Regions from separate parts of the Homo sapiens genome. Here region 1 is linked to region 2. The links are contacts of gene promoters, found by promoter capture Hi-C in blood cells and fetal thymus (Javierre and others, 2016). All regions are on one chromosome and are shown on one strand. The core of a region is centred on a gene start or on the middle of the fragment in contact, and the rest is flanking DNA. Distances in the headings are between cores, read along the strand shown. Region 1 overlaps BMPR2 (bone morphogenetic protein receptor type 2). Region 2 holds the start of ICA1L (islet cell autoantigen 1 like).

The links. The method cuts DNA at HindIII sites, captures the fragments that hold promoters and counts their contacts. A CHiCAGO score of 5 or more calls a contact.
Region 1: a fragment that was not itself captured here is called in contact with the fragment with the promoter of ICA1L in region 2 in 3 of 17 cell types (total CD4 T cells, total B cells and M0 macrophages); the score reaches 7.5 in total CD4 T cells.

What each region holds. Positions count from the first base shown.
Region 1 is chr2:202,564,923-202,567,622 of GRCh38, reverse strand. It overlaps BMPR2 (bone morphogenetic protein receptor type 2), which reads right to left. Exons shown (of 13, transcript NM_001204.7): 13 at 1-2,700. Among named protein-coding and RNA genes, the nearest start is that of FAM117B, 69 kb to the left of the region's middle. The HindIII fragment of the contact is 1,309 bases long and covers 695-2,003 here.
Region 2 is chr2:202,870,497-202,873,196 of GRCh38, reverse strand. ICA1L (islet cell autoantigen 1 like) reads left to right here and starts at 1,431. Exons shown (of 13, transcript NM_001288622.3): 1 at 1,431-1,578. RefSeq lists silencers at 1,119-1,248, 1,309-1,358, 1,399-1,888. The HindIII fragment of the contact is 15,476 bases long and covers 1-1,585 here.

The sequences.
Region 1 (2,700 bases), core at 100-2,599, 310 kb after region 2:
GGTTTATATATATCAAAGCATTTACTTACACTTATTCATAGAAAACTCTTTAGTGGCTTAATGTCAGCTTTCATAGTGGCATCCATAGATAATACAAAAGAAAAGTGATTTGCTTTATTTTATACTCACACTGATCCATCAAACACAACTTATACAGCATAGCAAGGCTTCAGACAGCTTATACAAAAGCAAAATAACTGAAATTATTCATAAAGTCATATATGATAGTCTATCTGTAATGTAAGAGCAAAACACACCAACAAAAGATACCCGTTAACAAGAAAGAGGGTTCTGAGGAAGTGCGAGTATTTTCTAGCCTTTCTTTTTCCGGAAAAGCATCCTCAGAAGTGAATACTCCGTAGCTTATGTTTCTCCTGTCCATTCAGAAAAAGCATGACAGCTACGCATCTCCATGTTTCAGCTACTACAACACCCTAAGAGTTAGTGTATTTTACAATTATCCATGTATCTTTATTTGAAAAATTATCAGCAAAAAACTGAGGATGATTCCAGCTTACATAAACACTGATACAATATAATCTCTATGGAAATGAAATAACAAGGCATACAAAAATTGCTTAAATAAATAAATGTGGCCAGAAAAAGAAAAGCCACAGAAGTCAAGCAATTCAGTGTTAAACTGGGACCTATCTTTGAATTGCATCTTTTAGTAATTTTTTCTTACTGTTAAGCTTCTTTAAAAATATGTTTCCTTTACATACTTACGAGGATTGGTAACAAGGTGAAGAGCCTGAGACAAGAGACTGGTTACAGATAACTTCCTAGGATTTTAAGTATATAGCACATCAATTTAGAGCTTGAACTTGTCTGATTCAAAGAAAAATTCTGTTTGACAATGTGATAAATACAGGTTATTTTCTCAAAACCATCCAAGCTATTACTAAAGTTATAAAATATTTAGTTCACTTTTAGAAGGCTTTATAACGTTAAATTGTCTCTTGAGAAAATCCTATCTGACAGGAACTACTTTACCAAGTTCCCTTATTAAAAAACAAACAAAATGAAACAATTTGTCCCATATCATGTATGGTCATTTGACCAAAGAACAGAAATGTAAGTCGTTTTAAGTCAGTGCTTCAACTCTAAAGGCCTAAATTTGTTGCAACATGTAGCCAATTAGTTGAGTCATTCCCTCTGTTCAGTAATTACAGAACTGGGCAACTTTTTATAATTAATGAAATCTGATATTATATCTATGTGAAAAAGTCAAATAAGATGAAACATTAAATGAACTGTGCAACAAACACTTTAAATATTCAACTGGATCTAATTGCTTACTTGCTAACAATTGAACTTTTTCAGTGTACAAAGGGATGAAAGGGGCCCTGAGTTTTTAAGTAACATGATGTCTGTAGAATGCATCTAAAACATGAAGATGTTTCTGAAATCTAAAGGTATAAATAAAATGGATAAAACCCACATGTTGCCTTTTAAAACTGAAAACCAAATCAAGTTGTAGTTTCAAATACAGTAATTTGCTTAAAAATTCAATCATAAACTGGACACCCTAATGATGTGATTTTGTTCTGAAGATTCCTTCTCTCTTACCCAGATTTTAAAATGGGTTTCAAGTTGTTTTAAAAATGTGTATGTTCACAATGTTTAATAGTAACACTACAAACATCACAGTAATAACAGAATTGGACTTTTAAAGATACGATAGATTTATTTTGAGCCTAGTTTTAATATACAGCATAAATTCTTCTGAAGTACTTTCAAATGTATCTGCCATGAGATAAATTTCTAGGTTTTTCTCTATATGCACACTCAACTTAAATCAGTCACCTAAAAGTTAAATGAAAGTTGTATAGTCCAGTCTATGTTGCAAAATAATAAGTATTTCAAAAGTGGTCTACAAAAATGTCCATAGATAATACCTGATTAATGTAGGGTTTGCTTTTGAAAGTTAATCTTGCATTTAGTGTTTAATATTTCATACAAAAAATATGTAAAAGGTTGTGGCTCAATCATAAAACTAAGCTTGCTGCAATATGTTAAAAAATTTTAATGGCAAAATGATATACAATTCTGTGTGCATGGCTTTTTAGTTATAACTAATGAGAATATAAAATCATAAAATTCCACAATAGAAAATGTTAGATAACACAAAAATTAAGTGCCGATTTGCTGGTGGTCTGATGGTTGAATCCACTTTCAAATAGAAACATCTTAACTCTCGATTCTATCAAACTATCAAACTATTACTTAACTGGAGTAATGAATTTGAATATAAAAGAAAATATAATTCTATATTCTTAAATATAAAGTCATTAAAATAGGACTGAGGAGAAGAGCTTAAGCAATTTTGTCTGAAGAATTGAGACTTAAGTGTTCATTGAGAGGCCTGAAGCATACTGAAGACTAAGAATATTGGGGATGATGACCAACTGCTCTTTTTTGTCCTACTGGGTAAAAGAAAAAAATTTAAAATCAAAGAGGAGGGAGACAGAATAGATATGAAGAAAACTTTCCTGACACAGACTACAAATCAGATAACTGAGGTTTGGAGTAAGTCAGACATAAACTATGAGGTGATTTTTTTTGTTTTTTTTTGAGATGGAGTCTCACTCTGTAGCCCAGGCTGGAGTGCATTGGCGCGATCTCGGCTCACTGCAACAACCTCCGCCTCCCGGGTGCAAACGATTCTCCTGTCTCTGCCTCCCGAGTAGCTGGGACTAC
Region 2 (2,700 bases), core at 182-2,681:
CCTAATGGGGAAGACAGGCAGGTAGATCGTTACAGCCAGAGAGCAGTATGCCCCTTAGGAGAAATGCCTCATTTGGTAAGATTCAGGAAAGCCATCCCAAGGAAATAGGTCAATCACTCATGTTTGCCAAACGCTAATTTTTACCCTTCTGAGGAAAGCTGTAGACTCCTCAAAAAAACAAACAAAATTTTGCACATAATCTCAGGTATTTGCCTATTCCTTGAAATCCAAATATCTCAGGGTAAAAGTCTAAAGACATTTAATGTTTTCAGTCCAAATTAACCCTCTGTAGCTTGCCACTTTTCCTATTCTAAAAGTATAATTTCCAGGTTAAGGTGAGTATTTTGTACTGTTAATATTCCAGAACCTCGGCCGGGCGCGGTGGCTCATGCCTGTAATCTCAGCACTTTGGGAGGCCGAGGCGGGCGGATCACGAGGTCAGGAGATCGAGACCATCCTGGCTAACACGGTGAAACCCCGACTCTACTAAAAATACAAAAAACTTAGCCAGGCGTGGTGGCAGGCGCCTGTAGTCCCAGCTATTCGGGAGGCTGAGGCAGGAGAATGGCGTGAACCCGGGAGGCGGAGCTTGCAGTGAGCCGAGATCGCGCCACTGTACTCCGGCCTGGGCGACAGAGCGAGACTCCGTCTCAAATAAAATAAAATAAAATAAATTCTAGACTCACCCCATCTTTGTCATCATACAGATTTTAATTATCACCTCGAGTGTTAACCTTTTAATTCTTTGCTAGCCTATGTGTCGCAGTTGTAATTAATAATTCGTATTCTGCTGTTTTAGGAAAGTTCTTTTAAGTTTTGGAGTCACCTTTAAAAAGAATGAAGTTTGAATTTATTAAATTATCTCCTACTAGTAGTAAATAGTTTTGCCTTCCTTTTTGTTTTTTTCCTGAGACTTTCAGGATCCGGTTTTACCTTTTACTCTTGAAGATTCATCATAAACATTATGGATATGGATATGTGCATTTGAGATTGGTTATGAACGGTTGTTAACTTAGACCTCTTTAAACCTTTAACACGGGAGTTAAATACAGCGGGCGAACGCTTTCCGCCTAAGGAGCACTGGTGCTAAGGGGCCGCCCCAGAAGGCCCGGCAGGTCCGGGGGTGGGGGTGCTCGGAGGGAGCCGGGAGGGCCCCGGGCCAATGCCTTCCACTTCCCCACGCCTCAGAGAGCTCACACTCAGCTCCTCGTAATGTTCTGACCGGTTTGGTGTTTGTCATTTCACTTTATTAAGTAAAGAGGAAATCGGGAAAGGAGGAATAGAGAGGGTCCCCGAGTTCATTCAAGAGCAGACCGAGAGATGCTCCGATCCCGAGTCGGGCCGGTGGCGGGGTCAGGCCGGCGCCCGAGGGGGGCGAACGCGGACGCCAGGTCGCGCGGTTTAAATCTCCCGCCTCCCGCAGCGGGAGCCTGACACCTCCACGCACTGGTGCGGAGGGGCACTGGCTGCCGGAGGGCCGGGAGTCGGCGCGGGGCTCGCGGGCGGTGGCCGGAACGGGTGCCGGGACGGATCACCGTACGGCCGAACGCGACCCGAGGAGGCGGAAGAGCGGCGCCGGTAAGCTTCTGCTGCCTCCTGTCCGCCCCTATTCCCCCTCAGGCGGCGGTCAGGCCCGGAGACCAAATCCCGGGTTCCCATGGCGACGCCGGGAGGCGGGGGCGCGGCGGGAGGCTCCGGCCACACGCGCGCGCGCGCGGCTTCTCGGGGCCTTGCTGGCCTCCTCGGTTCTCTGGGGGACCCCGGCCGCTGCCTGCGGCCTTCTTCCAGGCGAGGCCCTGCTCGGGGTTCTTCCGGCCTCCCCCCAGGCAAAACCCGCAAGGAGCGGTTTCTGGCGTGGCTGGGTCCCCTGCGGCGGAAGGGCGCCTCCCGGCCACGCTCGCTGTAGTGAAGGAGCGCGGCAGCCTGGGGCTCGTTTGGGTGATTTCCCTCGGCGGTGGAGGTCGCTCCTAATAGAGGCGGCGGCGGATCACCCGAACAGCCTTCAGGTGCTTCCCTGCTGACCTCTTTTTAACGTGGTGCTTATTTTTATTTCGCTATTATTTTGTAATGGGAATGTCTTCCTTAGAAACTAATTGGCAACCGATGGATAAAAACAAAACATAGTAAATGTGCAGTTTGAGCTGAACTGCAGAATGCACGGGCCCGCGAGGGGCTCCGCGCACAGATCCTGCTCCTTAGGCCGGCAACCCGACCCCACGGCACAGATATGGCTCCTGGAAACGCGCGTCAGCTGGTCAGGTGCCCAGGTGATGTCAGTGGTCAGATACCTGATGCTCTAAGGAAGACGGAGAGGGGAAAGCGGGGAGTCCATCCTGGCAGCTCACCCGCGATGCTGGGGCGTTGCCAGTAGAGGGGGTGGAATCATTTTTCGTGTAATAGATGATCTTGATGCACACAGCATAAAAGCTGTTATAAACTATGGGTCTCTGTAAAATAGATTGTTGGGAAGGTAACATTTTTCCATGGTTTTGATTTTTCCCAAAAGTATTTATGTATTGATTTATTTGGTTCTGACTCAGGCGACGTACTGTAAGACGATATTACTTTAATCATCTTCACATCAGTATTTATGGAATAGCCACAGGTGCCTCATCCTTTAGTAGGAGTTAATTATACATTTACTGGCCGAGTAAACATCTCCGAATGGTATGTATGTATTTTTATGTGACCAAAATTTTA